2 separate regions of the Homo sapiens genome follow, and region 2 is linked to region 1. The links are contacts of gene promoters, found by promoter capture Hi-C in blood cells and fetal thymus (Javierre and others, 2016). All regions are on one chromosome and are shown on one strand. The core of a region is centred on a gene start or on the middle of the fragment in contact, and the rest is flanking DNA. Distances in the headings are between cores, read along the strand shown. Region 1 holds the start of S1PR5 (sphingosine-1-phosphate receptor 5). Region 2 holds the start of MAST1 (microtubule associated serine/threonine kinase 1).

Region 1 (4,164 bases), core at 42-2,541:
ACCCGCGGCCAGCAGGGCCTGAAGCATCAGGGGCAAAGGGCACGGTCCTGGAGAAGGTCGCAGCAGCGGGACCCAGCCTCCCTTCCTGAATCTGAGGGTGGAAGAGCTGGGACCGTCTGGAAGTTCCTGGGAAGTCGGGGTGGGGGCGTTTCGGGGCCAGCGGGACTGGTCGTTGGAGGAGCAGTGGCCTGGGAGAGGCGTGGGAGAGCATCACAGACAGCAACAAAGAGACACGCAGAGGCAAAGAGACACGCAGAGACAAAGAGACACGCAGGCGAGAGACTCTGAGATCCTCCTGAGAGAGATACAGAGGAAGTGAGGGAGACACTCATTCATTATCTGGGCATGGTTGCAAGCGACTGGAGTCCCAGCAGCTACGTTCAGCCGGCTGAGATGGGAGGATGGCTTGAGCCGCGGAGGTCGAGACTGCAGTGACTTATGATGTTGCCACTGCACTCCACTCTGGGCCACAGAGCAAGATCTTGTCTCAAAAAAAAAAAAAAAAAAGAAATTCTTACATTGCTGGGGTTTACTGTCTGCTAAGGACACAGCCCAGAAACACCATTAATGAGTAAATCACTTTGTCGTCAGCGATAAGGGTGGGAGAGAATCGGTCGGGGGAACACGGAATCCAGGGGGTGGGACAGGAGAGACCCTCCTTATCTGAGGAGCGGCAAGTTCCCATCACAATCCTGCCCGGGCCCGCCCCACCCCCACTCGCCCTGAGCCGGGGGCGGGAGCGGGAAATTGGGAGGGGCCTGTGCCCGGGAGCAGCGGGAACCTATCTGCTGGTGGGAGAGGACTCAGGCTAAGGTGGCCCCCACTGAAGACTCCTGCTAAGCAACCCACTGAAGACCCCTCCGAATCATCGACGGGGCGTCCTTGGGGTGCAGCCCAGGAAGCTCAGTTCACAGGTGGGTGGGCAATGGGAGGGCGCAGTGCCCGGACACCCAGGACAGAGGAGACCCCTCCGCTGGGGAGAAGAGGCTCAGGCTGCGACCGCCCTGCTGCAGAACCCTCCCTTTCCCGCCTCTCCGAGTCCTCCCACCGCGATGGAGCGTCCCTGGGAGGACAGCCCAGGCCCGGAGGGGGCAGCTGAGGGCTCGCCTGTGCCAGTCGCCGCCGGGGCGCGCTCCGGTGCCGCGGCGAGTGGCACAGGCTGGCAGCCATGGGCTGAGTGCCCGGGACCCAAGGGGAGGGGGCAACTGCTGGCGACCGCCGGCCCTTTGCGTCGCTGGCCCGCCCCCTCGCCTGCCAGCTCCAGCCCCGCCCCCGGAGCGGCGTCCGCTCACTCGGTTCAAGGCAGCGCGACTGCGGGTGGCGCACGACCAGGGCGCAGAGTGAGTGGACTGCACTGGACCTTTGGGGGCGCTGGGCTGGGCCTGACCCGGAGGGGGTCGCCCTGGCGGCCACTTTCCCGGTCTAAAAAGGCGCACCACTCCTTGCAGGGAGTTCTCCGAACTTTTCCTGGAGGCCTCTGGGGAGGGGGAAGCTGGGGGCTCCCCAGCTGGGTGCAGGACCTGGGATACGGGGTGAAGGTGGCTGGAATCCCCTGGCCACCCCCTCCTGGCCGGGCCACTGCAAGTTTCCATACTTCAGTCCTGCTGCCGGGCAAGCTGGGCGGATGGGGTTGGCCTCCCCCTCAGAGCATGTGTAACCCTGTCTCCCTGTATTTGGGCTCCCCACCTCCAGCATGGGTGAGCCAGCGACTTCCTGTCTATGTTTGCCTGCCTTGATTCTCTGTGTGTGACTGAAGCTCTCTGGGATGTCCGCATCCCTGCCTTGTGCAAAAGAGATCCATTCCCCTCCCCAGGCCTTGGCTTTCTCATCTGGACTTGCATGGGGACTATTTGTGCATGGATGTTTGTGTGGGAGCATGGAAACCTTTGCGCCTGCTTCGATACGAAGCATTTCTTTTGAGCTTCAGTTTTCTCATCTGTAAATTAGGACTAAAGGAAGTGGGGATTAATAAGGTCACAGAGGCAGGTGAGGAGTGTTATTACAGTTTAATGACATGTGTGCCCCTCTGTAAGAGTCTGTTTGCCTCTTGTGGATTCTCTCTCCTGTCCTCAGGCTCTGCCTTAGTAAAATGAGTGAATAGGATCAACTTTTTTTTTTTTTTTTTTTTTTGAGACGGAGTTTCTCTCTTGTCACCCAGGCTGGAGAGCAGGGGTGCGATCATGGCTCACTGCAGCCTCGGCCTCCCAGGCTCAAGTGATCCTCCCGCCTCAGTCTCTTGAGTAGCTGGGACTATAGGGGCATAACACCACACCTGGCTAATTTTTAAATTTTTTTGTAGAGATGAAGTCTTAGTATGTTGCCCAAGCTGGTGTCGAACTCCTGGGCTCAAGTGATACTCCCACCTCGGCCTCCCAAAGTGCTGGGATTACAGGCGAAAGCCACTGTGCCTGGCCAAGGAGCAACTTTCTCATGGGGTTTTGGGTGGATGAGGGGGTTTTGGCAGGAAAAAGCTTTGTATGCAGTGAGACAAGAGTGTGGAGTGTGGTGCACTGGGCCCCAGGCTAGTGTGAGTGGAGGTTGTGAAATTGTGGCCTGTGCCACTGGGTGGGAGACCCTGTATTCGTGTGACTGAATTTTGGTCGCTGTGTTTTTCTGCCTGCGTCACTCTGTTCCTGTATGATGTATTTTTTAGTTTCCCTGATAGTGTGTGACTGTGTGTTTTGCCCTTGTAGTGTGTCGCTGTATTTGTGTGTCTCTTTCTGTGTGTGTTGCGTTTGTGTGCGTTCTGTGTGTTTACTGTTACGTCTCTGGAACTCCCTGCTTGTGTGTTTGTGTGTGTGTGTTTGAGACAAAGTCTTGCTCTGTTGTCCTGGCTGGAGTACAGTGGCACAATCAATGCTCACTGACTGCAGCCTTGACCCCGCGGGCTCAAGTGATCCTCTCACCTCAGCTGGGACTCCACTGAGTAGCTTGGACTATAGGCATACACCAACACGTCCCGGCTAATTTTTGTAGAAACGGGGTTCTCCTATGTTGTCCAGGCTAATCTCGAACTCCTGGGCCTCAAACAATCCTCCCGCCTCAGCCTCCCAAAGTGCTGGAATTACAGGAGTGAGCCACCACACCCAGCCGTGTGTGTGTTTGGTGGGGAGGGGGGGTGTTTTGAGACAGAGTCTCGCTCTGCCACCTAGGTTGGAGTGCAGTGATGCGATCTCGGCTCACTGCAACCTCCGCCTCCTGGGTTCAAATGATTCTTCTGCCTCAGCCTCTGGAGTAGCTGGGACTACAGGCACGTGCCACCATGCCTGGCTAATTTTTTGTGTTTTTAGCAGAGACGGAGGGGTTCACCGTGTTAGCCAGGATGGTCTCGATCTCCTGACCTCGTGATCTGCCCCCCTTGGCCTCCCAGGCCTGAGCCACTGCCTCAGGCCTGAGCCTGGGGGGATTACAGGCGGGGATTACAGGCCTGAGCCACCGCGCCCAGCCATGTGTGAACCACCGCGCCCAGCCATTCATGTGTTATTAATGTCCCTTTTTTTGGGACTATGTCACCTTGTTCCCTCGTGATATTATTTGTGTGTATGTCTGTCTCCACGGACTCTATCCCTCCATCCTGAACTCCCCCTTGGACACCATGTATAGGGGGTGATGGTCAGTGGGTAGGGCCCCTTTCCCACGACTTAGCCGGCTGCTGCGAGCGTGCTTACGGGGACCGCGGCCTGACACCGTATCTTGCCTCTCCAACAGCCTTGGGGCGCGCGGCCCATGGAGTCGGGGCTGCTGCGGCCGGCGCCGGTGAGCGAGGTCATCGTCCTGCATTACAACTACACCGGCAAGCTCCGCGGTGCGCGCTACCAGCCGGGTGCCGGCCTGCGCGCCGACGCCGTGGTGTGCCTGGCGGTGTGCGCCTTCATCGTGCTAGAGAATCTAGCCGTGTTGTTGGTGCTCGGACGCCACCCGCGCTTCCACGCTCCCATGTTCCTGCTCCTGGGCAGCCTCACGTTGTCGGATCTGCTGGCAGGCGCCGCCTACGCCGCCAACATCCTACTGTCGGGGCCGCTCACGCTGAAACTGTCCCCCGCGCTCTGGTTCGCACGGGAGGGAGGCGTCTTCGTGGCACTCACTGCGTCCGTGCTGAGCCTCCTGGCCATCGCGCTGGAGCGCAGCCTCACCATGGCGCGCAGGGGGCCCGCGCCCGTCTCC
Region 2 (4,646 bases), core at 1,823-4,322, 2.3 Mb before region 1:
CTCTGCCTCCCCCAGTTTCACCAAAGGCCCATAGAAAATTCATTTAAGGACACCCCAGAAACCCTAAGAGACCCTTGGAAAGAAACCTGAGATTCCTCCCCTTGAGAAACAGCCCTAGTCGTCCTCCCCCACCTCGGGGACCAAGAGTCCCTCGATAGGCATCGCGCAATCTGCGCTTGCGCACGTCATCTTGGCTGCCCCGTCCTGTTGCTATGGAAACACCTGGCCAGGAGAGCAAGGCTCGGAGAGACTAAGACCCCGCGCCCAGGGCGCACGCGCTTTCGACCTGCCGCAAAGGGAGCCCCACCGCCTTCCCCGTTCCAGATCGGCGATTGGACCCCGCCTTCTTATAGGCCCCGCCCCGAAGGCTAGGCGCTCCTTCCCGCTGAGACCTTGGGGCACTCGCTGGTCCCCTCAGGCCCCAGCTCGGGTGCAATTAGGAGGAGAACAGATGGCGGCCCAGACAGTGGTTGGGGAGGGTCTGCCCAGGGTTCTGGGGCCCTGGAGGGGAGGGACTCACCTTCGGGAGGAGGCAAACGAGAAGTGGGCGGGGGTGTTGGGGGAGAAGTTTCGGGGGCTGTCCAGGGGACTGCTGCCTATGAGAGAAAGAGGGGGCAAATCCTGTCAGGTCTCTCGTTCCCTAAAGCGGCGTGCAAACAGCAGCATGTCCTGTCTTTAGTCTAGTCCCGCCTATTATGGGGAGACCACGCCCCTTCGCCTGTGGCCCCGCCTCTCTAAATTTTTTCGTTGCCGAGTCAGCCTGGCCCCTTCCAAGACGATTCTGGCTTCATCTGGGATGGCCCCGCCCCTCAGGTACGACTCCTCCTTTCTGTCCGTCCCACCTGAGTCTCCGCCCACCTGAGTCTCCGCCCCCCAATGACCGTCCCTCTGCGACTGACCACACCCACACAAGCATGGCCCCGCCCCTTATCCAAACTGGTTCGCCTCCATTCAAACTGCGCCCCTTCTGTAGCATGACCACGCTTCCTCGCCTGAGGCCCCGCCTACTGTAGGCCAGTCTGCACCCACCAAGTCTCTACCACTGGCCTCACCTAGGTGACCTGGCAGCGGGGAGTGGGGTCTCGGTAGCGTGGGTGAAGTGCTGGTCAGGATGAGGCTTTTCCGATTACTGGTGCGGCAGCTGCGGGGAAGGTAAGGCAGGGGGGCCGGGCCGGGCCGCAGCCCAGTGAGTTCTTGAGCCCCACCAGCTGACCTCCTGTCTCAGATCCCCGCCTATCTCCCATCCATGTGTGTTTGGAGGCTCCCTGGGAGGGTTTCTCGAAGAAAGGTGGTGCAGGCCTCGGCAGGACTGTGTACGGCAGGGGATGTGCATATGACATGTGTGTGAGAAACTCTCAGTATGGATTATGTGTAGGGCAGTGTCTGTCATGGTGTGATAGTCACTGTGTCTAGGTGACACCATTGGTGATACTGAGCGTGTCTCAGTCTATGCGTGACATTCACTGTAGGTATCCACGTGTGGTATCCACTGTATGAATTCAACAATGTGTGACGCTGAATGCATTCTAGTGTGATACGTGTGACACAACGTGGGTTTATCTTGTGTGATACAATTTGAGCATTTGTGTGTCTATGTGACACAGTGTGAAATGCCACTTGTCCATAACAATGTGTGCTGTAACACAGGCAGGTTGTATTATTATTATTTTTTTTCTTTTAAATCAATGTCTCGCTCTGTCGCCCGGCTGGAGTGCAGTGTGCAGTGGCTCACTGCAGCCTCAAACTCCTGGGCTCAAGCAATCCTCCCGCCTCACCTCACCCTCCTGAGTAGCTGGGACTACAGGTGCCTGCCACCATGCCTGGCCAGGATGCATGATCCCCCCTACATGTATCTATGTCTTTGTGTGGCATTCTGAGTCTGTGTCCGATACTGTCCTTCCGTCTGGGTGTGACATTCACCATGCTTGTCCATGTGTATGTAGCATCTATTGTGTGAATTTAACATCTTGTGACACTGTGTCCAAACATGTCACCACATTTGACATTCTCTAGGTGAGTCTTGCAATGTGATAACATGTGATTTTGCGTGGTTCTGTCTCTGCAAGATCCCTACATCTGTTTATCCTGATGTCAGTGTGACATAGTATGTGAGATACCTAGATATGACATCGTGTGTTGTGACATTCTTGGATGCATGGATGGGATATTGAAACACATGTTTGCATCTTGGATGACATAACTGTGTGTGTGTGGATCGCCATGTAAGTGACATCTTACTAGGTGTACACGACGTGGTGCCCCTGTGTGTCTGTGCATGGTTCTGACCTGTGGCAGCTGCAAGGCTAGGTATGTGTGGCACCTCCCAGTGTATCTGGGCCACTAGGGCTGTTGTGTGTATGTGTGTGACATCATGTCCTGTGTGACGCTGTGTGTCACTATTTTCAGTGTAAGGCTGTGTTCGGGGGGGGGGGTTGTGTTATGATAAACCCCCCCTTTTTTCTACCCCTCAGCATCCAGCTCCCGAAGAGGGAGCCCCAAGCCCCTCCGTCCGTCCCCTCACCCACAGCCGCAGTGACTGAGCATATTAGCGCGTCCAGGAGCACGCGGCATGGGGGTGGGGGGAGGCCAGGCTGCGGCTATTGTTCTGAGGGTGCCAAGCCCCCCAGCCTCCCCTTCTTCCTCTACCCCCACCAGGCTGTTGGAGCCCGCAGCGCCAGCAGACAAAGGCGCCACAAACCCCCAGTGGCGCAGCCCCCTCCCCCCGCGGCCGTCCTCTCCAGCGTGCAAGCCCCCCAGACTCGGCCCACACCACCCCCCATTCAACCCCAACCCCGGCGGGAAGGCGCAGCTGGGGCACCTCTGGCGCAGCTGGACCGGGCGCAGCATCCCGGGCCCCGCCCTGCAGCAGTACCCGGAGCGGCGGCTTTTGCGGGGAGGGCCGGGACAATGTCTAGGGGATCGGGGGTCTACCTCTTGGTGCGGCGGAACATACTGCCGCCGGGGAAGGAGGGCATCGAGAAATTAGAAAGCGCGGTCCAGAGAGAGTCAGACATGACCCGGCGGCGGCGACATGGTGGCAGGTGCGGCAGCAGCGGCGGAGGCGGCGGCGGCGGCGGCGCGGGGAGCAAGCGCGCGGGGCGGAGGCTGCAGCCGCCGCAGCGGGCAGGGGAGGGCAGGGAAGGGGAGGGCCCTGCGGCTGCAGCCGGCCGGGAGGGGGCGCTGCTGCGTGCCGGCGAGCCAGGCCCCGCCCGCGCACTCGCCTGGCGCCCCCACCCCGGCGGGAGAAGGGGCGGCCAGCCCCCGCCACGTCTCTCCCCAGGCTCACCTGCTGCTTTTCCGGGGCAGGGGCAAATCCTTCTGGAAGGCAAAGGGGCAAAACGATGAAGGTCAGCGTGGACCTGCCGTTGCTGCCCACAAGCATTATCAACTCCCTGGAGGAGCAGAAGCAGGGTAAGACAGGCCCCTCTTCAGCACTGTCACTTTCACCCTTGGCCATGCACTGCGGGCCAAGTTTCTTGGGGGAGAGGATCCCTGGGTGATTCCTCTCCTGACCCTCAGAGACCAACAGAGGCCCACGTACACAGGCGGGGCGCCATATAAAGGCAAGTGAGTTGGCATATCAGCGTGTGTTTGTGCAAATGAAATAGGAATCATTATTTGAAAAATATGTCTTGAGCACCTACTGTATGCTGACCCAATCCTAGGCACTAGGGACACAGTAGTGAATAAATTACAAGTCCGGTGTGGTGGTGTGCACCTCTAGTCCCAGCTACTTGGGAGGTTGAGGCAGGAGAATCGCTTGAGTCCAAGGAAACACCAGCGTGGGCAACACAGCAAGACTCTCTGTCTCAAGGAGAAAAAAAAAAAAGTTTCTGGCCTTTTGGGACTAGTATTTATAGGGTAAAGGGGACATTAAACAAGATTAGTGTAGAAGTGAACGAAATCATTTTAGACAATAATTAGTCTTATGAATAAATTAAACAGGGTGATGTGATGGACAATGGCTAGGATGGAGACACATTGTCAGACAGGGCTGCTCTGTGGAGGTGACTTTTAAGCTGGTTGCTGAAAGATAAGAGCCAGCCATGGGAGGATCTGTGGAGAGAGCATTCCAGGTGGAGGGAACTGCAAGGGCAAAGGCCTGGAGGCGGGAATAAGCTTAGCGTACTCAATGAATGAATGAAAGGTTGAATGAATGAAAGGTTGAAAGAATGAATGACTCATCTACACCTCAGCAGATCTATCTGACTCCCAGCTAGAGTCATAGAGTTGGGGTAGGGGGTGGGGGGTAGGTAAGTAGAGTGACTCACAACTGAGATTTAAAATGGGAACCACGGAGGCTGAGGTGGGAGAATCTCTTGAGCTCAGGAGGTCGAGGTTATAGTGAACTATGATTGCACCACTGCTGGAGTAAGACACCCTCTCAATTAACAATAAATAAATAAATAATAAAAAGTTTAAAAAATAAAAAAATAAAAATGGAAATTCAGGTGATGGCCGCATAGTCATTTTTTATAATGACAATAATAATAATTAGTGAGTATTAACTTTATGTGTCTGCATTTGAAGAAGGTCACCTTCCATTTGTCAAGCTCTTAGGAAGTCACTGTAGGGATCAGGAGATATGGGGTCTTGGCTTTTTTCTGAGGAAAGGAATGGGGTACAAGGGGCAACACCTGCCAGCC

Evidence for each region. The method cuts DNA at HindIII sites, captures the fragments that hold promoters and counts their contacts. A CHiCAGO score of 5 or more calls a contact.
Region 2: a contact is called between the fragment with the promoter of MAST1 here and the fragment with the promoter of S1PR5 in region 1, in 1 of 17 cell types (total CD4 T cells). The highest score is 6.1, in total CD4 T cells.

What each region holds. Positions count from the first base shown.
Region 1 is chr19:10,514,574-10,518,737 of GRCh38, reverse strand. S1PR5 (sphingosine-1-phosphate receptor 5) reads left to right here and starts at 1,291. Exons shown (of 2, transcript NM_030760.5): 1 at 1,291-1,340; 2 at 3,709-4,164. The coding sequence starts at 3,727. RefSeq lists enhancers at 2,814-3,407, 3,408-4,001. The HindIII fragment of the contact is 9,669 bases long and covers 1-2,473 here.
Region 2 is chr19:12,836,941-12,841,586 of GRCh38, reverse strand. MAST1 (microtubule associated serine/threonine kinase 1) reads right to left here and starts at 3,072. Exons shown (of 26, transcript NM_014975.3): 1 at 2,932-3,072; 2 at 1,053-1,141; 3 at 521-596. The coding sequence starts at 3,014. RefSeq lists an enhancer at 1,026-1,085 and silencers at 2,992-3,041, 3,092-3,271, 3,276-3,459. The HindIII fragment of the contact is 9,607 bases long and covers 1-4,121 here.